Regions from separate parts of the Homo sapiens genome. Here all the other regions are linked to region 4. Evidence: promoter capture Hi-C in 16 types of primary human blood cells and fetal thymus (Javierre and others, 2016). All regions are on one chromosome and are shown on one strand. Each heading gives the region's core, a stretch centred on a gene start or on the middle of the fragment in contact. The rest is flanking DNA. Distances are from core to core; before and after follow the strand shown. Region 1 overlaps PRKCQ (protein kinase C theta). Region 2 overlaps PRKCQ (protein kinase C theta). Region 3 overlaps PRKCQ (protein kinase C theta). Region 4 holds the start of RBM17 (RNA binding motif protein 17). Region 5 holds the start of PRKCQ (protein kinase C theta). Region 6 overlaps LOC124902370 (a long non-coding RNA gene). Region 7 overlaps PRKCQ (protein kinase C theta).

The links. The method cuts DNA at HindIII sites, captures the fragments that hold promoters and counts their contacts. A CHiCAGO score of 5 or more calls a contact.
Region 1: a fragment that was not itself captured here is called in contact with the fragment with the promoter of RBM17 in region 4 in 2 of 17 cell types (neutrophils and non-activated CD4 T cells); the score reaches 6.8 in neutrophils.
Region 2: a contact is called between a fragment that was not itself captured here and the fragment with the promoter of RBM17 in region 4, in 1 of 17 cell types (neutrophils). The highest score is 5.7, in neutrophils.
Region 3: a fragment that was not itself captured here is called in contact with the fragment with the promoter of RBM17 in region 4 in 1 of 17 cell types (neutrophils); the score reaches 6.2 in neutrophils.
Region 5: a contact is called between the fragment with the promoter of PRKCQ here and the fragment with the promoter of RBM17 in region 4, in 1 of 17 cell types (fetal thymus). The highest score is 6.5, in fetal thymus.
Region 6: a contact is called between a fragment that was not itself captured here and the fragment with the promoter of RBM17 in region 4, in 17 of 17 cell types (M2 macrophages, non-activated CD4 T cells, M0 macrophages and 14 more). The highest score is 20.3, in M2 macrophages.
Region 7: a contact is called between a fragment that was not itself captured here and the fragment with the promoter of RBM17 in region 4, in 1 of 17 cell types (neutrophils). The highest score is 7.4, in neutrophils.

Annotation. Positions count from the first base shown.
Region 1 is chr10:6,425,764-6,428,848 of GRCh38, reverse strand. It overlaps PRKCQ (protein kinase C theta), which reads left to right. Exons shown (of 18, transcript NM_006257.5): 18 at 487-1,701. The coding sequence ends at 642. Among named protein-coding and RNA genes, the nearest start is that of LINC02656, 77 kb to the right of the region's middle. The HindIII fragment of the contact is 3,583 bases long and covers 1-3,085 here.
Region 2 is chr10:6,461,007-6,464,273 of GRCh38, reverse strand. It overlaps PRKCQ (protein kinase C theta), which reads left to right. Exons shown (of 18, transcript NM_006257.5): 14 at 1,909-1,971. Among named protein-coding and RNA genes, the nearest start is that of LINC02656, 110 kb to the right of the region's middle. The HindIII fragment of the contact is 1,528 bases long and covers 969-2,496 here.
Region 3 is chr10:6,442,152-6,445,629 of GRCh38, reverse strand. All of the region lies in intron 15 of PRKCQ (protein kinase C theta), which reads left to right. Among named protein-coding and RNA genes, the nearest start is that of LINC02656, 94 kb to the right of the region's middle. RefSeq lists an enhancer at 2,570-2,739. The HindIII fragment of the contact is 2,263 bases long and covers 123-2,385 here.
Region 4 is chr10:6,087,000-6,090,559 of GRCh38, reverse strand. RBM17 (RNA binding motif protein 17) reads right to left here and starts at 1,526. Exons shown (of 12, transcript NM_032905.5): 1 at 1,367-1,526. RefSeq lists silencers at 795-854, 1,125-1,214, 1,225-1,664 and enhancers at 30-868, 1,825-1,874. The HindIII fragment of the contact is 5,297 bases long and covers 1-2,318 here.
Region 5 is chr10:6,578,359-6,581,547 of GRCh38, reverse strand. It overlaps PRKCQ (protein kinase C theta), which reads left to right and starts at 1,272. Exons shown (of 18, transcript NM_006257.5): 1 at 1,272-1,337. It overlaps PRKCQ-AS1 (PRKCQ antisense RNA 1), which reads right to left and starts at 1,123. Exons shown (of 2, transcript NR_036503.1): 1 at 621-1,123. RefSeq lists silencers at 861-1,010, 1,021-1,270. The HindIII fragment of the contact is 7,587 bases long and covers 1-3,189 here.
Region 6 is chr10:6,399,618-6,403,083 of GRCh38, reverse strand. LOC124902370 (a long non-coding RNA gene) reads left to right here. Exons shown (of 2, transcript XR_007062044.1): 2 at 1,283-3,466. It also overlaps a transcript of PRKCQ not described here. Among named protein-coding and RNA genes, the nearest start is that of LINC02656, 51 kb to the right of the region's middle. The HindIII fragment of the contact is 5,114 bases long and covers 1-3,466 here.
Region 7 is chr10:6,488,652-6,491,718 of GRCh38, reverse strand. It overlaps PRKCQ (protein kinase C theta), which reads left to right. Exons shown (of 18, transcript NM_006257.5): 8 at 1-36. Among named protein-coding and RNA genes, the nearest start is that of PRKCQ, 90 kb to the left of the region's middle. The HindIII fragment of the contact is 4,374 bases long and covers 1-3,067 here.

The DNA of each region.
Region 1 (3,085 bases), core at 175-2,674, 340 kb before region 4:
GGGACTGACAACAGCCAAGAACGTTGATAAAAGAACAGGAATATGTAATTGTGAAATTCCTTCTCTCTTCCCATCCCTCCGCTCACACCCCCTCACTCCCTCTCCCCACCACCCTCCCTTATCCCCACCTTGTGTTCCATGAAAACTGAAGAGGCAGAGGTCAAATTCAGGTGGATCACTTTTTCAAAGGTTGCCAACCCTGCTTCATGTAAACCATTAGAAACATTAGATCCCATTTGAATGTCTACAGTCGTAGTCTTTCTGTGAATTTATGAATTTATATTATTATTAAGCTGAGGACACAGGATCACAGCCATGTTCAATGAGAGCTGGGCATGGTCATCTGTAGGCATTGCCTCCATTTAGTGTCTCTGCAAACACCAACTTTGCCATACGCAGATCACGGCCTAGATAACAAAAGTGAAGATCATGAACTTAATGGCTGATTTTTCTTCTCTTTCTTTCTTCCCTTAAACTCTGACTAAGAAATCACCATTTGACTGCAGCAATTTCGACAAAGAATTCTTAAACGAGAAGCCCCGGCTGTCATTTGCCGACAGAGCACTGATCAACAGCATGGACCAGAATATGTTCAGGAACTTTTCCTTCATGAACCCCGGGATGGAGCGGCTGATATCCTGAATCTTGCCCCTCCAGAGACAGGAAAGAATTTGCCTTCTCCCTGGGAACTGGTTCAAGAGACACTGCTTGGGTTCCTTTTTCAACTTGGAAAAAGAAAGAAACACTCAACAATAAAGACTGAGACCCGTTCGCCCCCATGTGACTTTTATCTGTAGCAGAAACCAAGTCTACTTCACTAATGACGATGCCGTGTGTCTCGTCTCCTGACATGTCTCACAGACGCTCCTGAAGTTAGGTCATTACTAACCATAGTTATTTACTTGAAAGATGGGTCTCCGCACTTGGAAAGGTTTCAAGACTTGATACTGCAATAAATTATGGCTCTTCACCTGGGCGCCAACTGCTGATCAATGAAATGCTTGTTGAATCAGGGGCAAACGGAGTACAGACGTCTCAAGACTGAAACGGCCCCATTGCCTGGTCTAGTAGCGGATCTCACTCAGCCGCAGACAAGTAATCACTAACCCGTTTTATTCTATTCCTATCTGTGGATGTGTAAATGGCTGGGGGGCCAGCCCTGGATAGGTTTTTATGGGAATTCTTTACAATAAACATAGCTTGTAACTTGAGATCTACAAATCCATTCATCCTGATTGGGCATGAAATCCATGGTCAAGAGGACAAGTGGAAAGTGAGAGGGAAGGTTTGCTAGACACCTTCGCTTGTTATCTTGTCAAGATAGAAAAGATAGTATCATTTCACCCTTGCCAGTAAAAACCTTTCCATCCACCCATTCTCAGCAGACTCCAGTATTGGCACAGTCACTCACTGCCATTCTCACACTATAACAAGAAAAGAAATGAAGTGCATAAGTCTCCTGGGAAAAGAACCTTAACCCCTTCTCGTGCCATGACTGGTGATTTCATGACTCATAAGCCCCTCCGTAGGCATCATTCAAGATCAATGGCCCATGCATGCTGTTTGCAGCAGTCAATTGAGTTGAATTAGAATTCCAACCATACATTTTAAAGGTATTTGTGCTGTGTGTATATTTTGATAAAATGTTGTGACTTCATGGCAAACAGGTGGATGTGTAAAAATGGAATAAAAAAAAAAAAAGAGTCCTCTTAATCGTTTACTTCCCCGCTTGCCCCCCACAAGAACTTGCTTCTGCTGTGTCAGTCCTCAAAATGTAGCTAGCATTGAGATGATGTTTTACAGTTGGGGGATTGGCTGGGCACGATGGCTCACGCCTGTAATCCCAGCACTTTGGGAGGCCAATGTGGGCAGATCACCTAAGGTCAGGAGTTCGAGACCAGCCTGGCCAATATGGTGAAACCCTGTCTCTACTAAAAATACAAAAATTAGCCAGGCGTGGTGGCGGGGGCCTATAATCCCAGCTACCTGGGAGGCTGAGGCAGGAGTAGAGTAAGACAAAGGGTGAGGAAGTCAGATGACATTAAGGCAATTGTAAGAAAAGCAAGTCTGCATAATATTCGGAGTCACTAGCCTACCTCATCACATGGCTGGAAATAACTTTAGATATTATATTTAAAATAGAATAATTAATATAAGCAGACTGTTGACAGTCTGCAGGTGTGCTGGAACATTTTCCTGACTATACGGAGCTCTTGTGATTTTTTTTAAATAGACACTCCCCTAAAATGAACACGAGTAACCTCATTTAAGGATGGGCATCTATCTTCAGATGTGTCCATTCAGGTGTCCGGGCCCTTTGTTCTGAAAATAGCACCATGACTACAAACCTCTAGTTATGTGAGAAGGCGACACTTGTCCTCCCCTTGCTCCAAATGAAAATGCTCACACATGTTTACCAAATTCACCTGCTTGAAGGAGGGAGAGGGTCCTTTAAGGCCCTGGATGGGCCAGTGGAGGGCAGGGAGCCGCCCGTTCTGTTCTGATCTCTGCTCTGCTTTGCATTTGCTGTGAAGCCCTGAACAAGTCATTTCATCTTTTGGGGCCTCCAAGTAATGGAGGTGAAGATGCTGTCTAAAGTCCCGTCTCACTAGAGTGATGGGGTCGGTGAAGACGCTATCTAAAGTCCCTTCTCACTAGAGCAATGGGGTTGGTGAAGACGCTATCTAAAGTCCTCACTAGAGCGCTTTCTGGTTCTAAATCTGAATCAAAATCCTGCAAAGTTAAAAGGTCAGTGAGCAACACTTTCCAAAACACAGACACTCGTGGATTCCACTCGCTGCAGGCCTGGGGGCAGCTCTACCCCATTTTCCTTCCAGTCGTCCTCTCCTCACTCTGGGTTCCCACATACCCCTGCCCCAGCACCCAGCATCCTCCTGACACCCAGAGACCCCAACAGGACCCCTACCAGGAGACAAATAAGTGAAGACTGTTGGCTCTTAGAAACAGGAACCAACGCAACTTTTATCCCCTCCACTAGACCAAAATAAGGTCTATTCATCATTTGGTTTTGTTTGTTTTATTTTTTATTTTTTTGAATTAGAGACAGAGTCTCCCTATGTTTCCT
Region 2 (3,267 bases), core at 483-2,982, 370 kb before region 4:
TTGTCAGTTCTTGCTGGTTTTTTTTTCCTTTTTTCCCACTTGGCATGCCTGAATCCCAGGGCCAGGTGAACCCTTGGGAATACATCGAGCAAGGCGACAGTTTTCCCAGGTTGTGAAACTGAAATTCGTGTCAGTTTGGTTTCATTTCTCTGTGATTTAAAACTAACTACTTAGTTTCTTAAGGAACCATCCCGATTCATCAGGCTTCTAACTAACCTGAGCACAGAAGCAAATATGTAACCTTTGGAAAGGAAGCAGTGAAATGGACTGCAGACCTCAAGGGTGGTCCCCAGGGATGGAGCTTGTAGCTGAGGCATCTTATGGAAAGCCTGATGTGGAGGCATAAAGCTTTAGGGAGCAGGAAGAGGCACTTAGTCCATCTGAGAACAAAGCTTCTCCTTCCTAGTGCCGGCAGCCTGAGACACCTGGAGACGGGGCAGGCTGTGTGTACCTGGTGGGACTGCACCTGCATCCACAGTTCTCACCACCACTCCTGCCCATGCTGTTCCCTTTGGGTCCCACTTCCTGCTCCCCATGACATGCAAGTAAAAGAAAGCTCTGCCACTGGGCTCCTTGGAAAATGATGAGTACATGCTAGCTTCCTTTGCTCAGCGCTCAATAATCCCTCCCTCCCATCTGCATGAACACTTTGAGTGGTTTAGGTTGAAGTGGGTTGAGAAATGGATTTGGTCCGCCAGCTTCTTAAAATCCCTGGCTGGAATGGCTGTTTATCACATCTAGTGGGTAGCACTCTGCTGAGATCATTGCTCTGGGAAACCTCAGCAATGCACCCAGAGGTAATTTTACTGGATTTCTGCAGCAGAGAAATCATCGGGCATTTTTCATGCCGGAAAGAATTCACTTAGTCCACTGTCGTCTCCAGCCAGCCCGGACCCACGCTATCCATCCTGTCCTAAATGCCTTCCAGGAAGGAGAATTTTGCATTCTTCCACAAGATCCAGCAAGCTTCCCTTCCAGGAAGCTATCTCTTATATCCGACCTTAATCCCACCAGTGATGGGGTAAACTCATTTCCTTTAACCTTGTCACCATTGAAGATGAAGTGTAACTTATCTTGCATCTGCTAATATCCTCTTTTCCACCTCATGGGCTGTAAGTGTTGCCCAGGCTAAAGGTTCTCAGTACGAAAATAAACCAGCTAGTTCTATTCAGAATGGTGCATACAGGTCTATGGGTGCCAACCAGAGTTTAAAACAAAGGGAGAAATTATTTGCCTATTATCTATACTATTACTTTTTTTTTTTTTTTTGAGTCAGAGTCTTGCTCTGTCGTCCATGCTGGAGTGCAGTGGTGTGATCTCAGCTCACTGCAACCTCTGCCTCCCAGGTTCAAGTGATTATCAAGCCTCAGCTTCCTGAGTAGATGGGGCTACAGGCGCCCAACACCATGCCCTGCTAATTTTTGTATTTTTACTAGAGATGGTGTTTCACCATGTTGCCCATGCTGGTCTTGAACTCCTGACTTCAAGTGATCCACCTGCTTGGGCCTCCCAAAGTGCTAGGATTACAGGCGTGAGCCACCGTACCTGGCCTATACTATTACTTTTAATGTCTGTGTATGTTTTATTAGCAATAGCAAAAACAACAAAAAAAATGACAATGTGAGCATTATTGTTTAAAATATAAGAACAAGTACTAGATACAGGCAGGACTCACTTAAGATGCCAGCTCTGTTTTATGCTGTTAGGACTGAGGCTGGAGGTGTCTGAGCCTCTACTTTCTTATGTGTAGAATGAATGGACAACATCTTCCTTGTTAGGATTAAACAGAGTTATGTGTGTATGCCATTTAGCCATACACAGCATGTCAGAAAAAGGTCAGTCTGGGTTTGGGATTTTATTTCGTTCCATGACAACATTCATGTTGAACCTTGGTTCTCCTTCCCCCAGGTTTTATGCTGCTGAAATCATTCTTGGTCTGCAGTTCCTTCATTCCAAAGGAATAGTCTACAGGTAAATTTTGCTTTGTGGAAACAAATGCTAAGATATCGGCTTTCCTGGCTCAGTTAATTTAATCATTGCACCGAGTGCTGTGAGACAGCCCATGTGATTTCCTGGGAGTAAGCTCCACACATAGGTCTGCTGCCCACAATGATTACATGGATGATGACTTACAACCAAGGAAGACATTCCAGTCTCAACAGCAGGAAAGTGCTGAGCTCATTCTGTCCTTTATGCTGGTTCTCACTTGAATTCCTTCTTTCACCTTCCTTTTCCCATTTTCACTGTCCTGTTTTCTCTTTCTTATCATACCTTACGGTTTCTTTCTCTTTTGTCCCCTTCATACCTCTTATTTTTGCTTGTCTTTGCTTTGAGCCACCTAGAAATGCTTATGGAATTTTCTTCTTCTCTGCTGTATGACATCATTTCACGTTCTTCTGTCCAAGCTCTTAGATTGACACTATTGTATCTCAATCTCCTCACTTCTTTTCTCAAAATGTAGTTGGCACTTATTTAACATACAAACCTTTACAAGCTTACTGTCAGATTTCCAACTCACTGCAGATTAGGAGGAAAAATAGAAAGGAAAAAAAAGAAAGGATCTAGTGAGGAGGATGGCTGAGCTGCTGGAGAGCAGATAATTAGTATTGAAGCTTTGGTGCTTACAGAGTGTAGAATTCACTTAACAAGGAAGGATCTCTCCATTTTCTGAGGGTGCAGTCAAGTGAGGGTTGCCCTATTTGGAGTCACACAACTAAAGGCTTAGAGGAGGTTTGAGAAGTAAGTATTCTTAAGCAGCCTCTTTGAATGTAATTTTTTTTGGTCTATCTACAAAATCATAGATTAAGAATCTGTTTTATAATTTTTTAATCTTCAGGAAATTGAGAAATACTCACCAGAATATTATTTTAAAACTCTTAGCAGAATTTTTTTAAATTTTTCTTTATATGTGTAAGGCCTGCAATGTATCTAAAATATTTTTGTACCTAGGCACTGACTAAATTGTGTGGGGTGGATGGATAGATGGATGGATGGATGATGGATGAGTGAACAGATGGTTGGATGAATGGATGAACAGATATTTGGATGGATGGATGGGTGTGGATGGTTGAATGGATGGACAAATGATGGATGAATGATGAATGGATGAACAGATGGTTGAATGGATGGATGAATGGATGGATGTGGATGGATGGATGGATGGATGGATGGATAAATGATGGATAAATGATGGATGAATGATGAGTAGATGAACAGATGGTTGGATGGATGGATGAATGGATGTACCTGGATGGATGGATGGATAAA
Region 3 (3,478 bases), core at 5-2,504, 360 kb before region 4:
TTTATTTTCAGAAACGGGGACAAGTGCATCATCAAAGCAGATATTTATCATAACATTTATAGTTGTCCCATAAGACAAATCATCTTGACTTTGCTACTTTTCACTGGATCTCACAAGAAGCTTATAAGAAGCGGGCCAGATATGATTCCCGTTTTTCACAAACAAGAAGGGTGAAAGGGTCCTCCCAAAACTACACAATAAGGGATTAAGCCAGAAGTAGAGCCTGTGACGTTTTACATGGCCAGAAAAACTCTTGTGCTGCTGTTGATATTGTTCTTCTGTTTGTTTAGCAAGTCTGCCTTAGAGAGACTTCACAGCACCCCTGGGCCTCACTTAGCACTGATCTGTCTCCCAGGAGTGGGCCCCGGGGTGGTGGAGGGTCAGGGATGGGGTTGCCGTGCACATCAGTCTGCTCCATCTAAAAAAGCTCACCGACATCAAAACATCTGGCTTTCCTAGAAAATACTGGAATGTCTGGAATTTTTTTTTTTTTTTTTTTTTTTTTTTTGACAGAGTCTTGCTCTGTCACCTAGGCTGGAGTGCAGAGGCGCGATCTTGGCTCACTACAGCCTCCACCTCCCGGGTTCAAGCGATTCTCCTGCCTCAGCCTCCCGAGTAGCTGGGATTACAGGCGTGCGCCACCACACCCAGCTAATTTCTGTGTTTTTAGTAGAGACGGGGTTTCGCCATGTTGGCCAGGCTGGTCTCAAACTCCTGACCTCGGGTGATCCACCCGCCTCAGCCTCCCAAAGGGCTGGGAGAATGGCTGGAATTGTGGTGTCATTTTCTTTTCAAGGCCATCAGTGCTGCAATTCTGCCATTCATTCCAAAGGCCCATTAGAGAAGGAAGAGAAAAATTCCATGTCATACGAGTAGCGCCAACAAAAAAATACCTTCTGCGTGCGTGTGTGTGTGTGTGTGTATTTATGTGTGTCTGTTCACAGATGCACCCAGCTAAGCCCAAACACATTACAAGGTAGAACAGATGTTCATCCCCAAGAGAGTCTGACTGTCTTGCTTTTAAGTTTAGTGCCTCAATCCTATTATTCCTTCTCCATTTTGTTTTGGCTAATAAAGCAACTTGCCCGCAACTCATCCTTGGAGCAGCAGTCATGAATTAACGAAGATTTTTTTTCCCTCTTTTCCATTAAAAAAAATTTTATGTGCCACTATTATGTCCTAGGGTTTTGTTTTTAATTGTGGGAAAATACACGTAACATGAAATTTACCATCTGAACTATTTTTGTGTACAGTTCAGTAATGTTAAAAATAGTGCCAGGTGCGGTTAATCCCAGCACTTTGGAGGCCGAGGTGGGTGGATCACTTGAGGTCAGGAGATCAAGACCAGCCTGATCAACATGTGAAACCCTGTCTCTACCAAAAATACAAAAATTATCTGGGCATGGTGGTATGCACCTGTAATCCCAGCTACTCGGGAGGCTGAGGCAGGAGAATTACTTGAACCCAGGAGGCAGAGGTTGCAGTGAGCCGAGATTGTGCCACTGCACTCCAGCCTGGGTGACAGAGCGAGACTCCATTTCAAAAATAAATAGATAAATAAAATAAAGTGTATTGTATAGTTGTGCAATCAATCTCCAGAAGGTTTTCATCTTGAAAAACCAAAACTCTGTCCCCATTAAATACCAGCTCCCTATTCCCCCTCCCCACAGCTCCTGGCAGCCACTATTCCACTTCCTGTCTCTAGAATTTAACTATTAGGTTGGTGCAGAAGTAGTTACGGTTTTTGTCACTGAAAGTAAGGGCAAAAACTTCTGTTAATACTTAAGGTACCTTATGTAAGTGGAATCATTCAGTATTTGTCTTTCCCTGCCTGGCTTACTTCACTTAGCATAATGTTATCAAGGTTCACTCACGTAGCATGTGACAGGTTTCCCTTCACCTTGAAGGCTGAATAATATTCCTCTGTGTGGAGGTACCACATTTTCTTCAACGCCTTCCCTATCCCTCCTCCCTACCCTCTGCCCAGACCCTGGCGACTGCCACTCTCAGCTTCTATGAGTTCAACGTGTTTACGTTTCACATATAAATGAGATCTTGCAGCATTTGTTTTTCTGTGCCTGGCTTGCTTCACTCAACATCATGTTTTCCAGGTTCATCCATGTTGTTGCAAGTAGAGATTTTCTCCTTTTTCAGGGCTGATACTCCCCTGTGTATATATAGCACAGTTTCTGTATCCATTTATCCACTGATGGACACTTAGAGTCCATATCTTGGCTATTGTGAATGAAGCTGCAATGAGCAAGCAAGTGCAGCTGTCTCCTCTACATACTGGTTTTATTTCCGTTGGTAATTTACCCACCGGCACATTTTCCTTATTTCTTTCATCCATGGATGGGTCCTACCATGTACCATCTCAGAGAAGCTTAGGCACAGTTTGTTGGGATGTCAGACGCTGAGCAGAATGGCGCGTGCCCTCTACCTTCCAATGTCCAAAAAGGAATTCATTGAAAGATCAACATACAAAGCCTTTTTTGCCAGAAGAGTGGGTTGGTGAAAGGATAGGAATCTTTCAAAATGTTAGGTAGGCTTCCAGACTTTAAATCCTCCTCCCTAACAGATAGACTCAGACCCCGCTATCGAGCTGTAGGTAGCTCTTAGAGATCTTTCATTTCTAGATTTGAGTGCTTTGGGGTTTTTTTTGTTTTTGAGATGGAGTTTCTCTCTTGTTGCCCAAGCTGGAGTGCATTGGCATGATCTTGGCTCACTGCAACCACTGCCTCCCAGGTTCAAGCGATTCTCCTGCCTCAGCTTCCGGAGTAGCTAGGATTACAAGCACCCACCACCACACCTGGTTAATTTTTGTAGTTTTAGTAGAGATAGGGTTTCACCACGTTGGCCAGGCTGGTCTCAAACTCCCGACCTCAGGTGATCCACTAGCCTCGGCCTCCCAAAGTGCTGGAATTACAGGAGTGAGCCACTGCACCCGGCCTAGATTTGAGCACTTTGCTATCCTAGGTTCTCTTTCCTGGCACAGGACACAATTTGATTCTGCATGTCAGTGATTAGAGTTGTGCCCCCTGAACTGAACAGCCATAGATAGCAAGGCTTTAAGGAAGGGAACTGTCCAGATGACCTCTTTGGATGCCTGATTACTACAGAGTTTATGCAAAGACTCAGGACAGTACAAGTCAGCAAAGCACGTAGGCTTGGTTTCCAGGCTCACACCAGAGCCACTGAAGAACTTAGACACATACCAGCTTTCTTAGGTCCAATATCTGCCACCTAAGTTCCCATGTCACTGATGGGAAAATAAAAACTAATGGCATAGTTTCATTGTTTCTTTATAAGCAGAGGAAAAGTACAAATTGAAACTGAAAAGTGTTTACTCAGACTCAAACTCAAAAATTTCAGCATTGTTTAGACACTGCTCTCCAGTCATTGGCTTCCCAAGAGATGGGTTTCAGGGTGATCTTTCTTGCACACCATCATCCTCGACCATTTACTGAGTGGCCTTGAG
Region 4 (3,560 bases), core at 277-2,776:
GCATTTGGAAGTGTACAACAATTCTCTCAAGAGCCTCCAGAAAGGCTGCCTTTGGTTCCGCAGAGCTCCACAACCGCACAACCTGCTCTGTTATAAACTGGACAGCACGCAGCACCTTGCTTAACTAACTCTAAAAATAAAGCCCTCTCGTTTAGCTCACTAAACTGTTACCCCATATTCCCTAAAAGCTGTCATTACGATCAAAATGTCTGCAGCCTTTACAACTAAAAATGTGGAAACTTGTGTTGCATCCTTTTAAAAACTCCATCTGCTGCGGGGAGCCAGTGCACATCTACCCATCTATTTGAGTATATGCGAATCTTGCCCTTATCTAGAATATCCTATTTCCCATCCATATGCCTGGCTCTAGCAAAATAAGGACCCTCAATGGCGCTTCTTTACTGCTTCTCAAGAAACCTCCATGTTCTGACCTGACTACTCCTGGAAACACAGCAGCCCCTCCTCAAACCTTTCTTTCTGCCTAACCTGCAGCTTCCAGAACGCACTACGGGGCTTCGCTTCTGCTACTTTCGCACTTACTTCCTCCGCCGGCAGCCTTTTTCCCACCTCTCACATCTAACAACGTACCTTCAAGACTCAACATAAGCATGACCTCCTCTCTCAAGAGAGGTCCTTCCAGACCCCACTTGCGTTTCTCAAATCAACCCGGGCCTGGGTTTTCACGCCTGCTTTCCCAGAAACCAAACTCCTGCAAGCAGGGGCAGAACCTCATTCCACCTGCATTCTCCGATCATTACACATTCTCGGGGCAAGAGGCGAAGCTCAAAGACTGCCTGGGGTCGGACGTGAGCGCTGAAACACCGCTCAAACTGCACGAGCCGAGGCGACGCCGGGGTTAGGGCTGCATTCCTGTCCCGGGCAGCTCCGGAGTCTGAGAAACGCCAACGTCTGCACTCCCAGTTCTGAGACCCCGGGAGGAACCGGCTCCGAGCCCCAGAGAGGGGCAACCGTGCAGGGCCAGGGGGGACACGCTACGGGCTACTCGGTTCTGGTGACCAGACAATTTCGTCAGGATGCGGTGCACGAGACGGAGAAGAAACGCTCTTCAGCACCAAACAGCCCGAGGCAGACATGAGGAGGAGGAGGAGGAAGGGAAGAGGGAGAAGGTCAGGGCCAGGGTCACCAGAGGCGGCGGCGGGCGGAGGGTACCGGGCCGCAGCCGCGTGGAGAGACCAGCGCCCGCCGCGGGGACTGAGACCCTCGGAGGCTCCGGCTGCGCTGGCCCGGCCTCCGCCCCTCGCGACGGGCCTAAAGCCGCGGGCTTGCGTCTAGCGCCTCCCGGGAAGGCGCGCCCGCCTCAGGTCCCGCCAGGCCACCCACCCGGGGCCGCCGGGGCGCCACTTACCCGGCCCGCCCGGCCGACTCTGCCCATGAGCCGCGCCGGCGGCAGAGCGGAGCCGGGCGGCACTCCGCGGAAACCCGCCAGCGGCAGGAGGCCTCGGCGGCGCCCACCCTTCGCTGAGTCCTCAGGGCGCTCGGCGGCGCGGGGTCAGGGAGCGCGGGCTGCCGGGAGAGCGCGCCCGCGCCTGCGCCCCGCCTGCGCCTGCGCCTGCTTCGGCCTCTGCGCCTGCGCCGAGGGCGCCTTGCCGCACTGCCCCCTGCCCGCGGGAGGACCGCACTGCACGCTCCCCTCCGCCGGCGTCTTCTTACCATCAAGAGGTGTCGCCCTGGCGCACATTTTCGAAATTCCACAAGGCTTGGGGAGCGCGGCAGCGCCCCCAGATGGTGAGGAGGAGAAGTGGTCCGAGGCCGGGCTTTCTGATAGGGGAGGTGGGGGAAGTCCCTCCAGGCCCCTCGATCTCATTCATTCAAAGCCACTCCTATATAAGCAAAAAGTTGAAAATAAGTCTGCATAGGCCAGATGCTGCAAAAGGATGGCAAGGAGCACGAGGTTAAGCGTAAGATTATGGAAACAGATGCCGCGATTAGGGGTACAGAAAAGAATGTCAATGCTATAAAGCCTCGGTCTTTAAAAACGACGTCGCTGACAGAAGCAGGGAGGGAAAGGGAAAGTGGGACTTCGGGTAAATATGATTTTTACATCTGTAATTAATTGGGTGTCAAATAGAGTTCAAGCCGATAAATCAAATAGTAGAGATTTAAGCAGACGTCTTAGTCCGAAGGAGTATACCAAGAAAGTTACTATAATCCATTAAAATCCAGTCATTAAGAAAACGGGAAAAGGGGGAAAAAAGAAATACAGTGGAGAGACAAAAGACAATCTAAAGAAATAGAGGATTAAGGACGTCATGGGATGGTATGATTCTGAGGGTAACCCAGAACAAAACTACAAAGCTTTCAAATAATCCACACATACATGCACCCACACATACATGCATGCACACACACACACACACACACAAAACCACAGCAAAAAAAATATATATATAGGGAAATATTTTAAAAAGTTACAAAACAGAAAGCGTAACCAAACTATATGACAGAACAAGACCAAATGTCTCACAAGAAGAAATATAGACCTAAGCTTACCTACTAAAAAACTACAATCTCAGATAGGAGCACAAACCATCATGCAACTCAGTGTTGTATACAAGAAAGTGCTAACGTTATTCTGAGTTTGAAAATACAAGATTGGAAAAGATATACCAGGAATATGCAAAAAAATTAAAAAAATCAGGAATCACAAACCGCTTACTACAAAGTTGATTTCAGGGCAAAAAGCATTAAGTAAGATTAAGAAGGACATTTTATAATCTTGAGGAGCACAATTCACAATCAAGAAAAAAATAGGAAAAATAGGAAAATCTTTGCACCAAATCACATAATCTCATTATTCATAGCAAACACTGTAGGAGTGAGTGAATAGACAGAAATAATTGGCACACTCCTTGCCAGACGAAGAGTACAAAAAGTAAATGGGGATTGAGAAGACCTAAAAATACAATTCCTATGATAGATCTAATATATCAAACACTGTCCCCTAAATAGACATTACATCTTTTCCAGTGTCTAAGGAATATTCACAACAATTAGTCATATTTTAAACCACAGAGAAAAATCTTAACATAGTCCAATAAGTAGAATCATATCGGTAATATTATCTGCAGCAATTCAATAAAAGTAGAAATTAATGAAAAAACAGAAAATAAAACATGCCTACCCCTTGAAAATTTTTAAATGCTTAAATAACACTTGGACTAAAAAGGAAAACAAAATCAAAATAACATAATATCTAGAAAAGTATGAAAATGACATACTCATGGGATTTAGCTCAGAGAGTACTAAGAGGAAAATTCATGGTTTTAAGTTTTTGTATCAATTAAAAACTTGGAAAAAGCTAAATGAATTAAGCACTTGTGCAAGAAACTGGAAATAAAATAAAAATGTGAGAAGCAGAAGGACGTACTTGGTCAATAAAAGAAGCAGAAAGTAATAGCGTGTAAACAGAAAAAGGAAGAAGGGCAAAGATAGAAGGTGTCTAGACTGGGTCTCTCCCCACCCCGTGATCAAAGCACCGGTGGGGGTGCAAAAGCCCTGATTAGGAGGTCCAGAGCTGCAGGACTTCCTCCAGGTTGAAC
Region 5 (3,189 bases), core at 23-2,522, 490 kb before region 4:
GGCAGAGTTTTGCTGTCACCCAGACTGCAGTGCAGTGGTGAGATCTCAGCTCACTGCAACCTCCTCCTCCCAGGTTCAAACGATTCTCCTGCCTCAGCCTTCTGAGTAGCTGGGATTACTGGCACGTGCCACAACACCCAGCTAATTTTTGTATTTTTAGGAGAGACACGATTTTGCCATGTTGGCCAGGCTGGTCTCAAACTCCCAGCCTCAAGCGATCCACCCGCCTCAGCCTCCCAAAGTGCTGGCATTACAGGCATGAGCCACCGCACCTGGCCTGTTTTGTTTTGTTTTAATCGTTTTTAATGTCTCTCTCAAAACAAGAAAAGAAAAAAGGACAAAAAATTACTATTTTACTTCTCAGATTAATCTGATCTTAGTACACTACAGCAACAAAAGTCTTAATCAAGTACGTTTTAATTATTTGGTGTCATCATTGCAAGGAAACCATTCAGTAAGAATATTAGTAACCAGACATATAATTTTCTAACCTGAATGAGAAATTAGTTACATGGAGTATAGAAAAAGAAACCACCCCGTTTATCCTCCCTGTGACCATCATTAGTATTACCCGCAAGGCATAAAAAGTCCTAAAATGACACGCACGGCGGCAACATTACCTTTGCAGCTTCAAGCACAGTAAAGTTGAAAGCAGTCCCACCTTGGCAATTGTGTATAAAACGACAATGTGCAGATACAGGAAAAGTCCCAGGTCCGAAGCCACCTAGGAACGATGACCCCAGGACAGAAGTGTGCCCAAACAAATGCCTGGGGTAGGTCATTTTAAAAGGAACAATGTTTACAAGCCCTTTCTAGCGTGAAAAACAGAGAAAAGAGACCCAGCTCTTTCCACCCAATCTGCTGGAGCGCCGTTTCGTTTTCAGTTGGGCGAGAGGGAGACATGTGGCCTCTCGCCCCTTTTCCTGACTCTGAGAATGTGGCCGGAGCCGGGGCGCTCCTGCTCCGCCTCGCCGCCCTCCCGGGGCTGTCCTGGGCCCTCCGGCCGCCGCCTCCCGCTCCAGTTCGCAGCTGGGCGACAAGTGGCTGGTAAGGAGGCCAGGGGCGGGAGCCTGGGCGCGGGACCGGGGGCGCACGGCGGGGGACCGAGCGCGCGTCCCTGGCTAGAGGTGCCGGGTCCCGGGAGGCCGGGCTGGCGGGGAGGCTGGCGAGCGCCCCCTGGCGGGCACCGCCTTCTAGGCGCACCCGCAGTGCGCCGGGCCCGCCAGCCCCGCCAGCCCCGCCAGCCCCGCCAGCCCCGCCAGTCCCCGCGCAGTCCCCGCGCAGTCCCCGCGCAGTCCCAGCGCCACCGGGCAGCAGCGGCGCCGTGCTCGCTCCAGGTAGGGCCCCGCGCCCCGCGCCGCCGCCGGGAGGGAGCGGGCTGGAGGGGCCGAGACCCGTGGCGAGAAGGGCTACCCGGGCCCCTCGGAGAGCCTCCGGGAAGGGGTGAGGGCTGCCGGGTGAGCAGGCGGAGTAGGAAATGGAACCAAGCGGGCGCAAGAGCGCACCGGGAAGAATTTCCCCGCTGGGTTTCTGGGACGCAGGTCGCACGGGATGCGGGATGCTGGCGACCTTAGCCGGGTGGGGGCCGCCGGCCTGGGGGCGCTTCCTCCTTTCTTCTCCCTTTTCCTTCTCACCTGAACGAAAGGGGGCCTGCGGGGAGGGAAGAAGGTGGAAAGTTTTTGTATTCTTGGTAAAAAAAAAAAAAAAAAATGCGTGAGGAAACATGTTTTCTGGAGATGGTATCCTGTCCACAGGGGAGCATAACCCCTTTTCTGGGAATGTATTGGAGCACGGACGGGGGTGCCATTGCTCAGGCTTCTAAACAAGCCAAGTTTCTGGTCAAGGGCCTGGGGGAGGGGGAGGCAGGTCTTTGAAAGATACCAAAAAAAAAAAAAAAAGAAAAATCTGCGTGCTCATTCCTGTAGCCTCAAGTGAGGTTATTCCCCAGCTTTGAGGGCCAGGTTAACCAAGCAAAGTTTGTGCAATAAAGTATCTTTGTGGTATTGGATTTTCGAGAGCCACCGTTATCAATGGGAGAGTGACTGTTGAATGCTACAGGCGTGTGCACTCCCCCGTGGGCATGAAGAGAGGTCCACGGGCTGGCTGGATTGGGAGACTCCGGTCATTTCTGCAAGGAGAGCGCCACAGGACTGCCTTGTTCCCTGGGCTGTCCTGCCCCTGTGCGGGCTGGACGTGGTGCTATAAAAGATGATTCAGGAGTGGCACAGGCTGAGGGGGACTAGGCTGGAGAAGGTGGAGGGAAGAGGGAGCACTCCGTGCCCTCTTCCTGTCCATGGGAAATGAACCATCTGTGCCTGGTGTCCAAGTCCTTGACGTTCCAGTTGCCCTTTGAGAGCACACCTCAAGCCTGCTGAATTCTTTTAAGAACCACCTACAAGATCTGAGAAGTCCGCCCATGCTTTCTGTCAACTCCGGCCTCTTTGACCTTTTCTTTTGCCAAAGAAAATTCTAAACCACTGGGATTCGTGAGGCTCCGTGAGAGAGGCAAGAAGCCTGGAGGGTCCACTCCGTTGCTCTTTTCCCTTGGTTTGCTCCCTAGAAGCCATGGTCCCCACTGGGCCCTTCTTGCCCGAGGCTGTGTGATAGACAAGCCCTATTCCTAAGGTCCTGGGTCCCCCACCCCACCCCACACCCCGACCTTGTGAATCATCATCTTCATATTTTCCCTAACTTATCTTTGGTAACCCTTGTAAAATGGCAGGCTTACTGCGGATGCTTAATCTCTTTTAAAAGTGCTGTGTCTAGCGGGAAGAAGAGTGACATTTACTAATATGGTTGCAAATTACTTTTGAAGTTTATGCACAGCTGTTTAAAATCCCTCTGAGATCAGTGCCATTGTTTGATGCAGGTGCTTACCGCAGAAGGCTCTTGTTAGTCCCTTCCTCCTGCTGATTGAACATACATATATTTAAAGACGTGGCGTAGGGAGAGCTTCTAAAACCTGCAAAGCCAAAGCTGCACAGCTCCTGCAAGTTAGCGATCCACTCTAAGTTTTTCAGTTGTTGTTTCTGTCTTCTTGCCTCTCATGAACTTCTGTTTCTGATTTCAAGAGTAACCTGCTGGGCACCATCAGCCTTTGTTTCAGTGACCTGCGATTTTCTTCTACACTTTAAAAATGTCAATATCCAGGCAAGACTCTTGTCACCCACCATCCGCGTTGTCATGTTC
Region 6 (3,466 bases), core at 815-3,314, 310 kb before region 4:
ACAAAAGGAGCACCAGTGAAGGGATAGGAGAGTAGAGCAAGGTAGAGAGGAAGGGAGGACAGGAAGCAGGGAGGAAAAGCAGCAGCCAGGTGGTCAGGAGATAGTGTGCAGACACTGAATTAAAAAGTGGTCCTAATTCCCTTCATGGAATTCTTTTTGTTTCTATTTGGTTTTGAGACAGAGTCTCATTCTGTTGCCCAGGCTAGAGTGCAGTGACACAATCTCAGCTCACTGCAACCTCCACCTCCTGGATTCAAGTGATTCTCCTGTCTCAGCCTCCAAAGTAGCTGGGACTACAGGTGCCCACGACCACACTTGGCTAATTTTTGTACTTTTAGTAGAAACGGGGTTTTGCCATGTTAGCCAGGCTGGTCTCGAACTCTTGACCTCAAGTGCTGGGATTTACGGGCATGAGCCACCCTGCCCGGCCCTTAATAGAACTCTTAAAGGCCACACAGTGCTTCACTTTATACAAGAAAGCTCGGAACAGAAAAAGTAGTTACTGCCACTCTTCTTTGAAATTGTTAAGTCCCCTTTGCTTCTTTGGGTACACGGAGAAGTTGCCAAGGCAACCCGAGCAGGGAGATGCGGAGTCAGGCTTTTCTGTCTGTGTCCTTCATGTTGGGTACAGTGCTTCACACATGGTAGGCGTGAGGGAGGAAAGAGCGGAAGGAATAGATGAAGCTCAGCTTTTTTTTTTTTTTTTTTTTTTGGCATTGAAATTGCACTCTTTTGGGGTTTTTTAAAATTATAGTTTAAGTTCTGGGGTAGATGTGCAGAACACGCAGTTTTGTTACATAGGTATGCACGTGCCATGGTGGTCTCCTGCACCCATCAACATTAGGTATTTCTCCTAATGCTATCCCTCCCCTAGTCCCCAATCCCCCAACAGGCCCCGGTGTGTGATGTTCCCCTCCCTGCGTCCATGCGTTCTCATTGTTCAACTCCCACTTATGAGTGAGAACATGCGGTGTTTGGTTTTCTGTTCTTGTGTTAGTTTGCCGAGAATGATGGTTTCCAGCTTCTTTGCAGCGTCTGTGTTCTTCCAATAGTTCCCAGCCGCACTATTTTGGACTTGAGTCACTAGAGGGAGGCAGAGGAACATGAAAAAGCTGCAGTTTCCGTCCCTGCTGGGCAGGGCTGCCTCAGACCTGAGCTGAGGACTCAGGAACTTCAGTGACCAGGCAGGATTAGAGATGGGAAGAATTCCAGGCTTCAGCCTTCCCCTTAATTCAAGATGTGTATTCTGCCTTTAATCAGAGTGTAACCTATGTATTTGTAGGAAATAATAAGAAAAAAGCTGCTTATTGCAGAGCCATGTAGAATTATCGGGTGGAAGTCAGAGAAAGAGACGGCGGGTCAACAGCTCCCAGCAGACAGCGTGACTCAGCAGGAAAGCCCGTGGGAATCAGAGCTTTGGGACCAGAGTGCCCTGGCCCCGCAATCCTCACCAAGTGGCTGGCGCTCAGAACCCCAGGTGTTGTAATCAGTAAAAGGGTGGCGGTAATCACTTCTACCTCATTGGGTTACTATACAAAGCACGAAAATGGATCAATATTTAAAAAAAAAAAACCAGCCCTCTCCTAAAACAGAGGAGAACTATATGGATGTCAATCCAATTATTACTATTAACCATGTGTTCAAGTCATGAGGTTGTCTACTTAATTATGTCCTTAAAGTTTGTTGACCTTAAATAAGGTGATACAGAAAATATGATGAAGTATGGGGTTTATTTGAGTACAGAGCTTGAGAACGGTCACCCGGAAAACACAGACCCCAAAGGGACATGCTCTAAAGTGGGGAAGCTAAGGCTGTGCTTACATAGGTAGAGATGGTTTCGGCAGGTTGCAATGTTTTCCGTGCAAGGCTAGATACATGTCATAGCGATTTGATTAGGGTGGCTTGCTCCATTCCATGGAAGATGGCTGTAATGTTCTGTGAGGACAAGAGTAATGTTCTGAGGGGTCACCACTCAGAGGGTCTTATTTCTGGTGCTACTCGGTCATTCCTAATCGTTTACGGGAAAAAGCAGAAGTTGCAACGGCATGCTATGTGACTCAGTCCATTTCTCTCAAGGCTCAGAATAAAGTTCCAACAGTTTTAAATTTGAATTATTTAATTTTGCAAGTTCTCCAGAAGACAGTAAGCTCTAAAAGGGAACGAACTATGGTCGTTGTTCTTAGCATCTAACATGGTACCCATTCAATATTTTTTCTTTCTTTCTTCTGCTTTTTGTAGAAGTGGGGTCTTTCTATGTCGCCCAGGCTAGATTTGAACCCCTGGGCTCAAGCATCGTCCCACCTCAGCCTGCCGAGCACCCAGGACTGTAGGTGCATGCCAGCTGGCAGATTTTTTTTTTTTTTTTCAGTTTCTTAAATGAATGAGTAAAAACACTTACATGTAGCCAAACCATATAATTTACTAGCTAAAATGAGCCTTTTTTTTTTTTTTTCTGAAAGGAAGCACTGTTAGCAATTACTCCAGGAAACAGGTTAAAAGCAGAACTGTCCTGGGCCTGCCGAGACACGGGACGTGGGATTGCTCGAGAGATCCAGCTCTCGCTGTGTGTTGAAATATAGTTCAGGGCACACTGCTCAGGGCTGGGACTGCCCTGCGTATATGACAGTATTAAGTCATCTCACCTGCATAACAACACAGCGAGGTTGGTACTGTGACTACTCACATTCAACAAATGTGTATGGACCACCTGCTGTCTTCCAAGTCTTCCAGAATCTTGGAATGCATCAAAACACAACAAGCAAGATGTCTGTCCTTTCAGAGCAGGAGATGAGGAAGACAGACAGTAAATCACAAACATAGCAAACAAGTAAATTACATAGTTTGCTAAAAGGTACTGGGGCTACAGATGAAAGAAGGGCAGAGCCGGGGGATTCAGTGTTGAATGAGGAAACTCAGGTAGAGAACACCAAGTCAGCAGCCGACATCTCCAGCTGGCTAGTAACAGAGCCCCATTCTAACTTGGGCAATCTGGCCACGTTCCTGCTCTTCACCTGGACTCTGCCTTCTCTTTCAGTTCTGACGTGCGTCAAACCGTGCAGCATGTTCAAATTCATTCAAATCCATCAGTGGCACAGAAGAACACACAAAATCTGGCAATACTTCCTTGAACTAAACTCAGTGTCCGCCCCCCCAACCCCCGATTGATGCCAGACATTTGCCACCCTGGGGACTTGATCTGAGTGACCTTGGGTTCATAGGAGATGCTGGGCCCTTGGAATTGATTGTCTACCCTGTAGGAATGGAGGCCACATCTCTGTTCTGCCTGGAGAACTTTTTCATCATGAGTTTGTGGAATCCGCCAGCCAAGCCCACCAGACAGGACTAAACAAACGACTCTAGGGGGAAAGGCCAGGCTTCCTGAAAGTCTAAATTGCTTGAACTAATGCTGGCATTTCAGCATTTTGAGCCATTCAAGCCACATGATGTCAAACTTCCTCTCCTCCAC
Region 7 (3,067 bases), core at 98-2,597, 400 kb before region 4:
TGTGGGGACTGGCACGGCAAGGACTCAAGTGTGATGGTGAGTCCAGTGGGGGATGAGCATGGCCCGACGTGGACCCCCTAGGGGATGGAGCAAGGCTTTCTGGGGAACTGGAGGGAGGATGTAGGGGGTACCACTTCCACACCCAGCCCAGACAAGTCATGATCATAAGTATGGTCTTCTGGGGCAATAAGCCACTATGTTCCTTTCCTTGCACCCTGCAACACCCCCACCCACACATCCCAGAAAAGAGCACAACAGTTCAGGTTCAAGGTCAAACTCCTAGCTCCATCACCTTCTGCCGTACCATAGCCCTGGGGGAAATGAAGACAGTGTTTCTCCTCTCACTGGTCTTTCTACTACTAGTTTCCTCAGTGGGCTCTGGGCTGCCCCTTCCTAATCCCAACAGGTCTAGCTGTGTGGTACCCTAACCCTTCTCCTTTGCACCAGCCAGTAAGATTCTTTCTGTCATCTCATCAAGGAGCAAGCCCAGCACATTCATTTGGCTGACACATGGTCCTGCACAGAAATTCTGTAACATTAGCTTGAGCATCCATCCCTAAACCATTGCTGTGAACTCCAAGTGCCCAGTAAGAGGCTGGCCCGGTTGTGACCGTCATTGCCTGTTTTCTGGTCTTTCCTCCAAGGCCAGGATCGCAGCAGAGCCTAACCTGCCATTCATTATTGATGGAGTTTCTCAGACCTACCATCAAAAAAGGAAACAAGGCAAGGCTTTCTTGCTGTACAACTCCAAGTTGCTAAGGCGATAACGTTTAGAAGCTGAGATGCTGTTACACTAGGATTAAGGACTAGGGAAGAAAAAAAAAAACCCTCAAGAACTGACAAGGCACTCTGCTTTCTGGTTGGGGAGAGACGTGGGCAGAGCCCAGAGAATAGAGCCACAAAAGGAGAACCACCTGTTGCATACAGACAGCTTCTGATTTTTTTCTTCTTCTTTTACTTTTTTTCTGAGACAGGGTCTCACTTTGTTGCCCAGACTGGAGACTGGTGTGCAGTGGCTCGATCACAGCTCACTGCAGACTTGACTTCTTGGACTCAAGCAATCCTCCCACCTCAGCCTCTCAAGTAGCTGGGACCATGGGCATGTGCTACCATGCCTGTTTTTGTTTTTTTTGTTTTTCTTTGTTTTTTTTTTTTTTTAGAGGTATGGTCTTGCTATGTTGCCCAGGCTGGTCTCAAACTCCTGGGTTCAAGCGATCTTGTCTCCTCAGCCTCCAAAAGTGCTAGGATTACAGGAGTGAGTCACCATGCCTGGTGAGCACAGACCTTTTCTTATGATGAAGTATTAAATATATAAGCCACTTTATTTTTTCTTGGCAGCCCTATTTTGATCAGTGCTACTGACTAATGTATGTCCTCTCTTTTGAGCAATGAGGTACGTGATGGAAGGCGGCACAGCATCTTCCGCATTCTCCCCTTCTTCATCCCAATCCTGTTCACATGTCTGGTGGAACCCAGAGCGACCTCTCAGTGGAGGCAGGAGGGGTTAGGTTTTCAAATCATTACCTAAAGCAGACATCACAGGAGGCCAACATTAGCCTCAAGAATCCGTTCCTGGCCCCAAAGGACACTGACACGCTTTTCTCTACACCCCTGTTCAAGAAGACATGGATAGGCAGGGTATTAAGAGTTCATTAGGAGGTCAGAGACAAAACGTAGTGTCCCGGCATCCTGCATCCTGACGGTATCCACAGAAACAGGAGAAATTCTCGCCTCTTGGTTCTCCTGTGATGGTCTCAGGTCGGGTTCTCTGTCCTGGGAGCCCGAGAATCCACTTGCAAGAAGAGCTGGTCCCAGCAGCGCCGCGGCACAGCTTAGAACTTCCCAGGGGTTCCTGGGCGTTATTTCATGGCTCTTCTGCCTGCTTCGTTTCATTTCTTTCCTTGAATACTCTTTCCTTTCCGCTCCATTCTGTTCCCCGCTCTCTCCTACCACCTACATTTCAAGTGCTCCCCTCCCCTTTTTCTTTTGTCCCCTCTCCTCTCCCTCCCCTGCCCTGGTTTGTTTTCCATTCTTGCTTCTGACACTCCCGGGTCCCTGCCCCTCCACTGTGCTCACCCCGCCTGCTCCGCTCACCCCGCATGCCCCCGCGTCCTCCTTTCTCGACTCTTCTCGCCCTCTTCTCCAGCTCTCTTCCCTCCCTCTCTGCCTCCCTTTCATCCTGCCTCCTTGCAGGCCGTCGTCTTAAGTAGGGCCTCCTTAGCCTTTTACCCTGCCTTCTCTTTCTCCCCACAATAATTCCCAAGAAAATAGTCATCCAAAGGGACTCTTTGCCCTCCAAGAAACTGAGTTACGGCCTGATAGGTTAGTAACAAAGACTTAGGACCTTCTCGTGGAGATGGTGGTGGCCTTTCTTCGCGGCCATGCAAGTCACAGAGAAGCCTAGATGTGGCTACAGTTTTAAGGAGCAAAGTAAAACTCCATCCCTCTATGTTCAATCCTAGCTGACAACCTCACTTGGTGTCACGGTGATGCATAAGAAAATGGAGCTGGGGCTACCGAAGTTGAAACCTGACACCTTCTAAATAGGGCGAATGTGAGTTATGCGAGTTTTGCCGACAATGTGGAATTTGGAGCACAATCATGAAAAAAAAAAATCCTTTCTATAGTAAAGATTTTAGGCCGGGCACGGTAACAGACCTGTAATCCCAGCACTTTGGGAGGGCAATGCGGAAGGATGGCTTGAGCCCAGGAGTTTGAGACCAGCCTGGGCAACAAAGTGAGACCCCCATCTCTACGAAAAATAAAAAAATTAGTCGGGTGTAGTGGTGTGCACGCCTGTGGTCTCAGCTACACAAGAGGCTGAGGCAAGAGGATGGCTTGAACCCAGGGGTTTGAGGCTGCAGTGAGCTATGATTGCACCACTGCACTCCAGCCTGGGCAACAGAGCAAGACCCTGTCTCAAGAACAACAACACAACAACAAAGATTTTAAATATGCAGAAAAGATTTTGCTTCAGGTGAATTTTTCTGGCTATATCTATGCCTATATACTCGGTCTAGTAATGGTTAATAGTTGACCGGGCGCGGTGGCTCACACCTGTAATCTC